4 separate regions of the Homo sapiens genome follow, and all the other regions are linked to region 2. Evidence: promoter capture Hi-C in 16 types of primary human blood cells and fetal thymus (Javierre and others, 2016). All regions are on one chromosome and are shown on one strand. The core of a region is centred on a gene start or on the middle of the fragment in contact, and the rest is flanking DNA. Distances in the headings are between cores, read along the strand shown. Region 1 overlaps TCF20 (transcription factor 20). Region 2 holds the start of NFAM1 (NFAT activating protein with ITAM motif 1). Region 3 overlaps TCF20 (transcription factor 20). Region 4 overlaps TCF20 (transcription factor 20).

Region 1 (2,981 bases), core at 407-2,906, 250 kb before region 2:
GTCCTTTGTTTTTGACCACAGTGTTACTACATTCACTCCAAGCAGAGGTAAGTCCATACAATACTGCTCCCCAGGAAGAATGAGACACATTGGGGGCTCCAAGCATGATTTCTAAATTAAGACACATTTTAAAAATAAGGAATGGCCCAAACTTCAAAATCTTTTAATAGTAAATTTTTTATTATGGAAGGGAATAAAAACTATTTTTAAAGAACTCTAATAAGAACCTCACATTTTTTGATACTCTAAACTTGGGAAATAAATTATAAAAGGTATTATTAGTTTTGGGACATGTTTTAACGGAAAGTGGCCCAGATACAGAGCTTGAACCTTTCACCAGACTTTGTCACTGTCTCAGAGGCAGGGCTCGCTGACTTGAGGTAGCAAACTGCAAGGACTGAGTCAACTAGCGTTGTTTAATCCTTATCTGAGGGAAGCTTTAAGGGAGCCTTCTCCAAGCCTGATGCCTGCTCATTCACAGAAAGGCTCTTTCTTATGAGATATAACAGCAACCTGAATCATCATCCTGTTTAATTAGCATCTCAGAGCAGCCTCAGAACACCAAAGCAACTGGGTCACAGTAGTATTATAGCACACTGATGACAACTGGTTTTGTTCAAGCCTTGCAGATTACCCTCCACTACTGTGCCTAAGACGGCTCTTATCCAGCATGGCACACACTTCTGCTCATGCTCACAATATTTACTTACTCATGTTTGTCCATCTCCCCTAAACTGTGAGACTTGTTCTTGCACCCCCCAAGGACTGGCACACCATAGGCACTGTAAATGTGGGCTGATGGAATGAATGCAATGTCTGACAAACTTGAGAGCCTGAAGACAACTAATGAGGATACTCTTCAATGAGTTACAAAACTGATGCTGGTGGAGCTTGGAGAATGTGGAACAAGGTATGTGTTCATTTTTGGCCACCAGCAAAAAGTTTTTTGTCCTTTTAATTATGCCTCCTACATCTAGGATGGAAGCCGCTGTCCTCCCAGCTATCAATGCCAACTACGTGGCAGCTAGATGGGCTACATACAAGGAGCTACCCTTCAAGGCCCTGTGAGCATTTCTTTGATGCAACTCTGCATCCTATCAAGCTTCTTAAAGACTACTTCAAAGTGTTAGCCAAAGCAATACATACATAGCCCTAGGTGTTTTGGTCCTTACTTCCTTAGAGCTAGACGATCTCCTTACGTTTCTTCATGAAAAGCTCATGAGACTGGCTGGAGAACCTTTAACTTGCCATTAACACAAAGACTGAGGGAATGGGCTCTGGCACCAGCCTCTGGGACCTGCACCACGGCCCAGTACCACCAAGGCTTCCCAGTCAACCTCAGAGGGACAGAGACTTGTCCAGTTCTTCTCAGGTCCATTTACTCAGTGCTACTCAAGTTATGGTACATGGATTTAGAATCTGCACTTATGTCCTACAGCTGCTCCGGCAAAAGTGCCAGTTTCAGAAACTGAATCCATTAAATACACACTTAATCAATTATGATGTCAGTATGAAACATCAGCCAGCCACTCACTGGCTAAGGGCTAATTGTGTGTACTTAAGACAAAAGTTCCAGGCTTGACTAGCTTTTTAGAATAAATGTGGTTGGTCTAATGTGCATACTGTCCAGGTATGATGCAGCACAGGGCTACTGGAGAAAAAAACTGAGGGTGTCAGCACACGTGTGAAAGCCAAAAGTCACCAGGTCAATTTTATCATCTGTAAAATGGGGATAACAGTATTTGCTTTGCCTTCTGCCTAAAGCTGCTGTGTAAAATAACCATAAAAGTGTTTTACAAACTAGAAAGTTATGTAATTATTAGAACTTTTAAATAAAAATTACATAAAACATACATTCATCTCTGTCATACTTTGGCAATTACTGATATCAAAATCAGATATAATACAAAGTACAGTCTATTAAATTAAGACAAACAGTTTAAAGTTAATTTTTTGTTAAGTAATTTCTCTCCTACAATCTGCCTTAAACAAGCAGACCCTGCATGGGTCTGGACACCTGCTGCTGGTCGTTTTTTTGGTAAGTCTAGCTGCTGTATGTTTCAGTAATGTTTCATCTCCGACGGTGTGGAAGGTCAGTTCTTGGCCAAGTCTCTGGACACTTCACTTCTTAGCTACTATTTACTATTACTTTCATTGTATCTCCCCTCTCAATTCTCCTATCTGGGACCAATACAAACTAAAACTATTTTTAAAGCTTTCTAAAGCATTTTGCATTACAAGAAAAGATGTTAAATAAATGGGGACTAATAATGACACACAACTGCATACAAATTAAATTCTAGCAGGATTTCGAAAGCATTGAAAACTGCCCCAAAATGGCATATTGAGCACAACTAGAATGAGAAAAACCGCCTCACAGGCTTGCCTGTTGTACTCTACAGACAGTGCCCTCTGTTATGTGGAGAGCAGACCTGGAAACCAATGACTCCTTTGCTGCCTGCATCAGAGTCACCTGCCAGGTGCTCCTAGCCATACTTCTCCAAACCTGTCCCTACTCACATTAATCTAGAATAATCTGCTGTGGCTGATTCTGGACCCTCTGCTGCCATGTGGATCTTAGGTCCAACAGATGGTACTATTCCTTACAACACACTTAGGGCCCAATAGTTCATCTTCTCTGCCTCCTGGGACCCAGTCATCTGCTTCCCTCCAATACAAGCCCATGAAAACACTCACACAAACTTTCTTTAATCTGATCATCTTTCAAGCATAATTTGAAATAAAATTATATATTTAGATCACCATTCTCCTCCCATAAAAGCCCCAATCAAAACATGGCTCTGCTACAGATCCTGACAAGTATTTGTTTCTTTGGGAAAACCTTTCAAGTCAAATTATAAACCTGTAATAAGTGTCTCTGTGGCTGAGTGGTGGTTGGGTGGTAGCTGGCCCCAGAAGTGGTACAAAACGCACAGAAAGCCTGACCCAGGTCCAAATCTCTTGAGTGTGGCCGTTTTGGC
Region 2 (3,406 bases), core at 886-3,385:
AATAAAAACAGGACGGGCACAGTGGCTCACGCCTGTAATCCCAGCACTTTGGGAGGCTGAGGCGGGCAGATCACCTGCGGTCAGGAGTTCAAGACCAGCCTGGCCAACATGGCAAAACTCTGTCTCTACTAAAAATACAAAAATTAGCTGGGCATGGTGGTGGGCACCTGTAGTGCCAGCTACTCGTGAGGCTGAGGCAGGAGAATCACTTGAACCCAGGAGGCAGAGGTTGCCGTGAACCAAGATGGCGCCATTGCACTTCAGCCTGAGTGACAAGAGTGAAACTCTCAAAAAAAAAAAAAAAAAAAAAAATCATGGGTGGGGGTTTGTCTGCTGCTCCAAGGGACTCTAGGACACCGTAAGGGTGTTTTCACCTCTTGTGAAAGAACAGTTTCTCTTTTATGTAATGTTTGTTGCAATACCGGGTGGGAGGGGGTGGCACTGGGAATGTTTTGTTATAGTTGAGACTGTTACAAAAGAGCTTTTCCCCAGTAGCACCCCATAAAACCTCTTACTGCTCGGTTACCAGGGTGTGCTGGGTGTCTTTTGGGGAGGAGGAACCACACAAAGGGAAAGGATGGGAATTGGGGGGAAATTAAATTAAAAATGACTGTAGTTGAGACACATTGACACTAACAGGCTGCATTTCCGGGGTCTGGCCGTGTTTGCACCAACTGTCTGGGGTGTGGGGCGAGGCGTGCACAGGATTAAAGGAGATGGTGTCCTAGGGCTCTGGGCTGCAGCCTGGGGAGGTACACACAGGTCAGCCTTTGCCTCCCCAGGGTAAGTTTCCGGTGAAGAACATTCTTTACAAGTAAGAGGATCCTCTGAGCCTACTGGCCGAGGGGCCCAGCTTGGGGCTGAGGCTGGCCTGGGGCTGAGGCTGGCCTCTACTTACCGGCTAGGTCTTGAGCAAACGAACTGGCTTCCCTGGGCCTCCTTTTCCCTGTCCTTAAAATGGTGCAGGTGAGGACAATAGGAGCCCCAAGGGGTGCTGTGAGGGTGGCCAGTACGTGCCCTGCTAAGGGCTCCATAAAGCCTAATTTGTGGTCATGAGAGGGGGTGCAGCAGGACAGGGTGGGGGCAGCTCTTGAAAGCCCCATAAACTAAGAGAATAGAAAGGAAGGCACCCTGTCTCCACAGTGGAGGCCACCCCTTTGGCCAGAGGGAGGGTTGGCTGCTGCCCGGCCAAGGAGGGGCAGAGAGAATCTGGCAGAATTCACTGAGCCCTCGTGCTGGCAGCCCTGGAATGGGACCCTCCTGGGCCGTCCCTGGCCTGATGAACTGGCCCTGAGGCTACCTACCCCACAGCTTGGCTCGGATCCCGGCCACCCAGCTTCCAAGAAAGCCTGGAACCAGGAAAGGAGCGCCGCTGGCGTGGAAAGACACACTTGCATCCTAAAACACTTGGCCTCTGGTTGTGTTTCAGGAACTGGGAGGTGAGACCCTTTCTGGTGACTGACAGTTTTGTGCCTCTGGGCGCAGAGCCCTGTGGCTGGCCCTGGTATCCCCCCCTCCCCCCTCTCCCCGCTCTCCCTGGCCAATGCCAGCAACAACCCAGAGGGTAGCCCCACCACTTGCCAGGTTCAACGCAGTGTCCCCCGCAGCAGCCACGTGAGGTTCCTCGGATGGGGAGCTGTCCCTCCCCCCTGCCCCGCCCCTGGCCCCAGCCACACAGCGCCCACCCTCCTTGTTTAAGGGCCAGGAGGCCAGACTGCTGGGGCAAAGCTGTCACAGCAGCGAGGGAGAGAGCGCTGTCCCCCTCCCCTTCAAAAGCCACCTTGGCAAGGCATTAGCTAAACATCTTCTCGGTCCCAGAAGGCTTCCCCTGTGAAGTCTGCAGCGTTCAAACGACAACCAGCAAATCCCCAGAGACAGGTCCCTGGGAATTAGCTGCGCCGGGCGGGATGAAAGCCGCTCTGATGTTCTGGAGCGAGAGAGTAGAGAGAAGGAGGAAGACAGACACTACCTGCCAGTCGCAGGGTCCCGGGCAGCAGCAGCACGCCAAGGAGGAGCCAGGGGGCTGCGGGGAGCCCAGGAGGGCGTGGGAGGCCTGGCAGGGCCCGCCACCTCACAGGCTGGTTCTCCATCTGGGGGCCTGCTTGTCTGCGGCGACTCTTTAGTTCACAGGAGGGGACGGCCGGCGCTGACAGCTTCCCCTTTGCTTTCCCCACGAAGCTCCTCCCTGGCAGCCCCTGACCTTCCGCTCAGAAGCAAAGCTGGAACAGCCCAGCAGGGTGGCCGCCAGATGAGGAACCTGGCACTGAGACTGGTCCAGGCCACACAACCAGAAGAAGAGCTGGAGACGGGACCCAAGCCTCCCCACTCCAACCCCTGGTGGGCTTCACCCTGTCTCGGCCCCTTTCCAGCAGGGGCCCCGTCCAGGAGACACTGGTAACTGTGCAGAGGGATCATGGGATTTCCATGAGTGACTTCGGGCCTTGGTTTAGCCTCTCACTTCTGAAACACTTTTAAAACGACCACAAGCATGTTCACACAAACTTCTCTAAAATATTCTGAGAATCCCTTAATAATGTGTTTACCAAAGGTAGGTTTTTTGGTGAGGGGTGGTAGGGAGGCTGGGGTGAAGGGCAGGAGCCTCATGTTCCCAGCCCTAGAGAGGGCCAAACACCCAGGGCAGGTGAAAGGCAGGCTGCCCATCATTCACCCAGCGAGAACCTCTGTGGGTCCCCTGCAGAGGCCCAGGAGACGCCTCCTCTCTGGTCCATCTCTAACGTCAGCTCCTCCCTGTGGCTGCCCTAAAGCTTAGCTCACTCGGCCTCCCAACTGTGAGACCCTCGAACTGCTTCCCCATTGGCTGCAGGTCACAGCCCCTGCTCTCACTTCTAGCAGCATCAGCCGGGGACAGGAATTGTTTGCTGCCGGGACCCCCTTCCCCAGCAGACTGGGAGCCCCTCACCCTTGGCACCCACACATCTGCCTGCGTGTCTGGAGTGGCAGAGGAAAGGGGCTGGGGTGTGGTGATGGCTGGTGGAGCTGGAGGCACCTGGTACATGGAAGACGCAGGCGGGAAGGTGGCTGAGTTTCAGCGCATGCTGAGCGCTTACCTCCCTTCTCTGCAGGTGTCCCTTCACTCACCAGATAAATGTGATGATCCCAGTTGTACAAAAGAGAAGACCTCGGCCCCAGGAGGCAAAACAACATGCCTAGGATCAGGGCAGGTCTGTGGGGCGGGCATTTGAACTGCCAGTGGTATGATGTCCGAGCCTTCTCCCACCCTGCTACTGCCTGCTCAGGTGTGTCCAGCTGCAGCCCCCGGTGACGGCATCATGAGATCCATTTCAGTTCTTTGCACACATGCTTTTCCCTGGGCTGCTCCAAACATGAACAGTGAAAGCCTAAAGACGTTTCCACCAATGCCACGAGCACTGGGAGGCTGGCAAGA
Region 3 (3,233 bases), core at 529-3,028, 190 kb before region 2:
GGGATTACAGGCCTTAGCCAGCGCGCCTGGGCTTCAACTTGTATTAAAATGATCCTCGTTGGCTAGTGCCGTCAGTCACCTGGAAAAAGACATCACACCCAAAGCCTCTAATTATTTCTATAAACAATTTTTCAAATACCATGTCCAGCACACAAACATATGAACAAAGTACCATGAGTAAGAACCATGAGAGGCAGTTATAGATCCAAAGGAACTCCAAATACTGGAGATATCAGGAGACTATAAAAGAATTATATTTAGTATGTTCTAGGAAATAAAAGCGAAGTTTGAAAAATTTAGCAGGGAACAGGAATCCATAAAAAACAATGTAGCAGACTTGAAAAGAATCACAACTGAAAAATACAGTAAGATATTGGTAAGAACTATCCATTGAGTTATTAAATTAAAAGCAGATTAATCGGCTGGCGCGGTGGCTCATACTTGTAATTCCAGCACTTTGGGAGGCTGGGGCAGGTGGCTCACTTGAGGCCAGGAGTTGAAGACCAGCTTGGCCATCATGGTGAAACTCCATCTCTACTAAAAGTACAAAAATTGGCCAGGTGTAGGGGCACACACCTGTGGTCCCAGCTACTCGAGAGGTTAAGGCACAAGAACTGCTTGAACCCAGGAGGCAGAGGGTGCAGTGAGAGCCAAGATCGTGCCACTGCACTGCACCCCAGCCTGGGCGAAAGAGTGAGACTCTTGTCTCAAAAAAACGCAGATTAGTCAAAGAGAAGACTGATTAACTGAAAACAGGTCAAAGTAATCTACCCAGAATGAAAAATAGAAAAGAAAAAAAACACTTGTAATGGATGCCATTTAATCCCAGCACTTTAGGAGGCTTAGGCGGGCAGATCAGGAAGTCAGGAGATCGAGACCATCCTGGCTAACACAGTGAAACCCCGTGTCTACTAAAAATACAAAAAATTAGCCAGGCGTGGTAATAAGTGCCTGTAAGTCCCAGCTACTCGGGAGGCCGAGGCAGAAGAATCACTTGAACCCAGGAGGCGGAGGTTGCAGTGAGCCGAAATCGCACCACCGCACTCCAGCCTGGGCGACAGAGCGAGACTTCGCCTCAAAAAAAAAAAAAAAAAAAAAAAAACAGAAAAGAAAGGGTGACTACAAGGTTGAATGTATCCCTGTATGGGTGGACTCTTAGAATGAGAAGGGAATGGAGGCAAGGCAGTAAGTGAGGAGAAGTATTGGGAATTTTCCAGAACAAATAAGAGATATCACCAAAGAATCAAGAATCTTGGTGAATACAAAACAGATGGTCTCTATTATCTAGAATGTCTTCCAAAAATAACATGAACCTGTTCTGTAAGTATAGTACCACCACAATTAAATATCTATTGTGGTCATATTAGGGGTTATCATAGGGTATACTATATAGACGAACTTACAACACTCTCAGCACGTGAGGAGCTCAAAGTCAAGGATTTAGAAGAGGTATTTTCAACTGTGAAGATCTCTCTACCCGGCCAGGCGAGGTGGCTCACACCTATAATCCCAGCACTTTGGGAGGCTGAGGCACGCGGATCACCTGAGGTCAGGAGTTCAAGACCAGCCTGGCCAACATGGTGAAACCCCATCTCTACTAAAAATACAAAACTTGGCCAAGGGTGGTGGTGGGCACCTGTAATCCCAGCTACACGGGAGACTGAGGCAGGAGAATCACTTGAACCCAGGAGGCAGAGGTTGCAGTGAGTGGAGATCGCACCACTGCACTTCAGCTTGGGTGACAGAGCAAGACTCTGTCTCAAAAAAAGAAAAAAGACATGCAGGAACCTTAAATGATTATTGCTAAGTGAAAGACATGAATCTGAAGTGGCTACATGACTTTAGCTATATAATATTCTGGAAAACACCAAACTGTAAAGTCAGTAGGAAGATCAATGATTACCAAGGATCCAAGGGAAGAGGGGGAAGGATGAATACGGAGAGAGTACAGGTGACTCCTGGGATAGTGAAACAATTCTGTATAATACTGTATTAGCAGATGTAAGACATTATGCATTTGTCCAAACCCACAGAATATACAACAAAGAATGAACTCAAGTCAGTTGCTGTGGCTAGCACCTGTAATCTCACCTGAATCCAGCAGCTCAAGGTTACTGCGAGCTATGATTGTACCACTGCACTGGCTGGCAGAGCAAGACACTGTCTCAAAAAAAAAAAAAAAAAAAAAAAAAAAAAGTCAGGCATGATGGCTCACGCCTGTAATCCCAGCACTTTGGGAGGCTGAGGTGGACTGATCACTTGACGTCAGAAATTTGAGACCAGCCTGGCCAACACGGTGAAACCCTGTCTCTACTAAAAATATAAAAATTAGCAGGCATGGTGGTGGGTGCCTGTAATCCCAGCTACTCAGAAGGCTGAGGCAGGAGAATCGCTTGAACCCTGGAGGTGGAGGTTGCAGTGAGCTGAGATCACACCACTGCACTCCAGCCTGGGCAACAGAGCAAGACTCCCTCTCAAAAACAAACAAAAAAAGGTCAAATATGAACTGGACTTGAGTTAATAATAAAATATCAATACTGTATATCAAGTGTAGCAAATGCACCACACTAATATGAGATATTAGTAATAGTGGAACCTATGGTTGGATTGAGGGAGGGTAAACAGGAACTCTCTTATTGCTCATTTTTTCTGTAAACCTAAAACTGCTCTAAGCAATAAAGTCTACTAACATTTCTCTTAAAAAGTTAATGTATCAGGAAAAATGAACCACAATGACACAGCACTTCATACCCATAGGTATGGCTATAGGAAAGAAAACAAAAAATTACAAGTGTTGGTGATGATGTGGAGAGACTGGAACCCTCACATATTGCTGGTGGGGGCCAGGCACACTGGATCACTTGAAGCCAGGAGTTAGGAGACCAGCCTGGCCAACCATGGTGAGACCCTGTCTATAAAAATACAAAAATTAGACAGGTATGGTGGCACATACCTGTAATCCCAGCTATTTGGGAGGCTGAAGCAAGAGAATCACTCGAGCCCAGTGAGTGAAGCCTGTAGTGATCCACGATCATGCCACTGCCCTCCAGCCTGGGCCACACATGGGAATATAAAATATTCAGCCACTGTGAAAAAGTCTGGTGGTTCTTCAAAAAGTTGAATACAGAATTACACGATCCAGCAACTCCATTCCTAGGTATATACTCAAAATAAGTGAAAACAGGTATCCAAACAAATAGATATACACACATGTTCATAGCAGCACTATTCAA
Region 4 (2,974 bases), core at 56-2,555, 210 kb before region 2:
AAGGACTCCTTCTTAGGTCTGTTCTCAGCCTTCCCCTGCAGATTCCCTGTCCTGTATGATACCCCTTTCCCTATTGTTATGGTTCTACTTTATGAAAAAGAAAAAAAAAAAATCCAAGGCCAAATACCTCCTGCAGGGTTCCAGTCATGCTAAATATTCTTAGTATACATGAAGCACCTGAGTAGGAGAAGGTGGTTGCCCAGGTTTATCTTTTTTAGGAATGCCAAGTAAACCAATTAAGAAAACCAACTAGCATATACCAACGACAGAAAATGTAAACCTGGAGCTATAAAATAAGTAATAGGCTGGGTGTGGTGGCTCACACCTGTAATCCCAGTGTTTTGGGAGGCTGAGGTGTGAGGATCGCTTGAGGTCAGGAGTTCAAGACCAGCCTGGGTTAAAAAAAATTTTAAATGCACAGTGTCATGAGGTGTGCCTACAGTCCCAGCTGCTCAAGAGGCTGAGGTAGGACGATTGCTTGAACTCAGGAGTTCGAGGCTGCAACGAGCTATGAATGTGCCAATGTGCTCCACCCTGGGTGACAGTAACCCTGTCTCAAAAAAAAAAAAAAAAAAAAAAAAAAGCTAATAGAGATAATTCCAATTTTATCCCATCATCTTAAAAAAAGCATCAGTGTAGTCAGTTTTAAAGCACTGTGATTAGTAATAATAAGTGCCTGAATTCCTTTGTTTAAATGAATACAAATAGTAAGGAAAATCTGATACCTCAAAGGAATAAGTCACCTAAGGAACTTGCATACACACTCTAAAAAAGAGGCTGGGCACAGTGGCTCACCCCTGTAATCCCTGAACTTTGGGAGGTCAAGGCGGGCAGATCACTTGGGCTCAGGAGTTCGAGACCAGCCTGGGCAACATGGCGAAACCCTATCTTTATAAAAAATACAAAAATTAGCCAGGCATGGTGATGCGTGCCTGTAGTCCCAGCACCTCGGGGGGCTGAGGCAGGAGGATCGCCTGAGCCTCGGAGGCAGAGGTTGCAGTGAGCAGAGATCGCGCCACTGCCCTCCAGCCTGGGCAACAAAGCGAGATTCCGTCTCAATAAATAAATAAAAAAGAGGCCTACCGATGTACTTCCCATCCATAATGACTCTCCCTTTCCTGTTTTTCTCCTATATTCCTAACTTTCTGAACAGTTTCAGAAGGGCTGTGGAGGTGTATTAGTGAGGTCCAGAACTCTGTGCCTAAACATTCCAGAGTCCATGTGCCGACCTCACAAACTCACTCATAACCAGCTGCAGACTTGTTCTCCCCATCCTATTAGAGGGCTGATGACCTTGCCCTCTTATAGAAAACCAACATTGGCTTTCTCTGTCCTTCTTCCTCCATATGTCCAACAACATCCCACTTCCCAATCCATTCTCTTTTTTGGAAAGAGAGTCTCACTCTGTTGCCCAGGCTGGAGTGCAGTGGCATGACCACAGGCTCACTGCGGCCTCAACTCCCAGCTCAGGCAATCCTCCTGCCTCAGCCTCCCAAGTAGCTGGGACCACAGGCATGGGACCCCTGGCTAATTTTTAAAAAATAATTGGGACTATGGCTAATTTTTATAATTTCTTAAAAATAGAGACAGAGTCTCACTGTGCTGTCCAGGCTGGTCTCAAACTCCTGGGCTCAAGCCATCCTGCTGTTTCAACCTCCCAAAGTGCTAGAATTCAGCCATTGTGCCTGGCCCCAGCTAATTTTTTCATCCTCTGTCATGATTTTCTGCTTATTCTCCTTCTTTGCCTTTAAATCCTCAAGACATTGACAATGATGCATCTAGTTATAGCCTGTGTAAGGGATATTCCCTGTTTGCCCCCACAGCCTCTCCTCACCCATCTCCACCCTACTCTATGCCCTAGAACGGACAATGGAAGGACAACTGACAGGCCCCACCACCCTTGCCTTCTGACCCAGTTTGGCTGGTAAGAGGCAGGAGAGGAGGAAAGTGAGAGGAACTTACTCTCCTGGCTCCCACCCCGAGGTTACTGAGGCTGGCTGAGACCCTCCACCAATGGCTGCAGCTCCATCGGGCAACCTCAACATATAGCCACTTTCTCCAAACTCCAGGAACCACTTCATCCTCTGCCCTTCAGGTCTAGAAGGCAGTAGGTAACAACTCCCTGCTACTGCTAGCACAGAAGACTTCACTTTCCTGTTGGCTTCCCCAAACCCTGCTCACCCTTTCCAGTCCCTTTATTAATCTTCTGCATTGTTGTCAACTCAGCATCGTGACCACCCTCCTTCCAAGCTCTCCTCTGCAGATCAGAAGCTGAGAACTTCCGTTCCAGAACCCTTTAGCAGCATGGTTCTGGGTTAGAGTTTGCAATGAGAAGTGCAAGAGAGATTTAGAAGGCAAAATAAACGTAGAGGTTGATGATATTCCCTGGAGGTAGATGCAGCACACGTGGATTCATAGCGGCTTCCCCATGAGCTCACGAGAACCATTCACTATGACACTTCAGTATGAAATCATCAGGAACCTTCCCAATTCCAGTTCTTCCAGGGTTGGGTAAAGCCTTAATTCCTGTATCAAAACCATTCATACCGGAATAGACAACTTCTCTTTTCCTGAATGAACCCTGAATGATACAATTAAACACTCCTTAAATTACCCAGTTTGAATGTGCCATCTGTTTTCTACTGGGACCCTGACTGATAAGAGTTCTTCTCATTCCTAGGATTTCAGAGTAGACTATTGCCACTTGGGGAATGAGAGACTTCTATTTCATGCACTATGACATAGAACAGGGACTAAAAATCCTCCCTCAACAAAACACTTAGAAATGTCAGACAAAATGTATAGCCAAGTTGCAAGAAAGTAAGAAATGCCCAAAGTCCAAAATTGGATGAGATACTATGAAGAGAGTTGCAGGCAGGTGCTGGGCTCTGAATGCCAAGGATGTGGGGTCTATAGGGCTTATTAACCATATGGCAAAGGGTTTTTTTTTTTTTTTTTGAGACGGAGTCTCGTT

Evidence for each region. The method cuts DNA at HindIII sites, captures the fragments that hold promoters and counts their contacts. A CHiCAGO score of 5 or more calls a contact.
Region 1: a contact is called between a fragment that was not itself captured here and the fragment with the promoter of NFAM1 in region 2, in 13 of 17 cell types (naive CD4 T cells, total CD8 T cells, naive CD8 T cells and 10 more). The highest score is 11.6, in naive CD4 T cells.
Region 3: a fragment that was not itself captured here is called in contact with the fragment with the promoter of NFAM1 in region 2 in 6 of 17 cell types (naive CD8 T cells, naive B cells, non-activated CD4 T cells and 3 more); the score reaches 7.0 in naive CD8 T cells.
Region 4: a fragment that was not itself captured here is called in contact with the fragment with the promoter of NFAM1 in region 2 in 14 of 17 cell types (naive CD8 T cells, naive B cells, total CD8 T cells and 11 more); the score reaches 12.9 in naive CD8 T cells.

What each region holds. Positions count from the first base shown.
Region 1 is chr22:42,184,587-42,187,567 of GRCh38, forward strand. The region is part of intron 2 of TCF20 (transcription factor 20); the gene reads right to left. Among named protein-coding and RNA genes, the nearest start is that of CYP2D6, 55 kb to the left of the region's middle. The HindIII fragment of the contact is 1,113 bases long and covers 1,101-2,213 here.
Region 2 is chr22:42,430,268-42,433,673 of GRCh38, forward strand. It overlaps NFAM1 (NFAT activating protein with ITAM motif 1), which reads right to left and starts at 2,136. Exons shown (of 6, transcript NM_145912.8): 1 at 1,970-2,136. The coding sequence starts at 2,090. The HindIII fragment of the contact is 8,354 bases long and covers 1-2,763 here.
Region 3 is chr22:42,241,126-42,244,358 of GRCh38, forward strand. All of the region lies in intron 1 of TCF20 (transcription factor 20), which reads right to left. Among named protein-coding and RNA genes, the nearest start is that of TCF20, 28 kb to the right of the region's middle. The HindIII fragment of the contact is 5,614 bases long and covers 1-3,233 here.
Region 4 is chr22:42,218,799-42,221,772 of GRCh38, forward strand. All of the region lies in intron 1 of TCF20 (transcription factor 20), which reads right to left. Among named protein-coding and RNA genes, the nearest start is that of TCF20, 50 kb to the right of the region's middle. The HindIII fragment of the contact is 4,351 bases long and covers 1-2,974 here.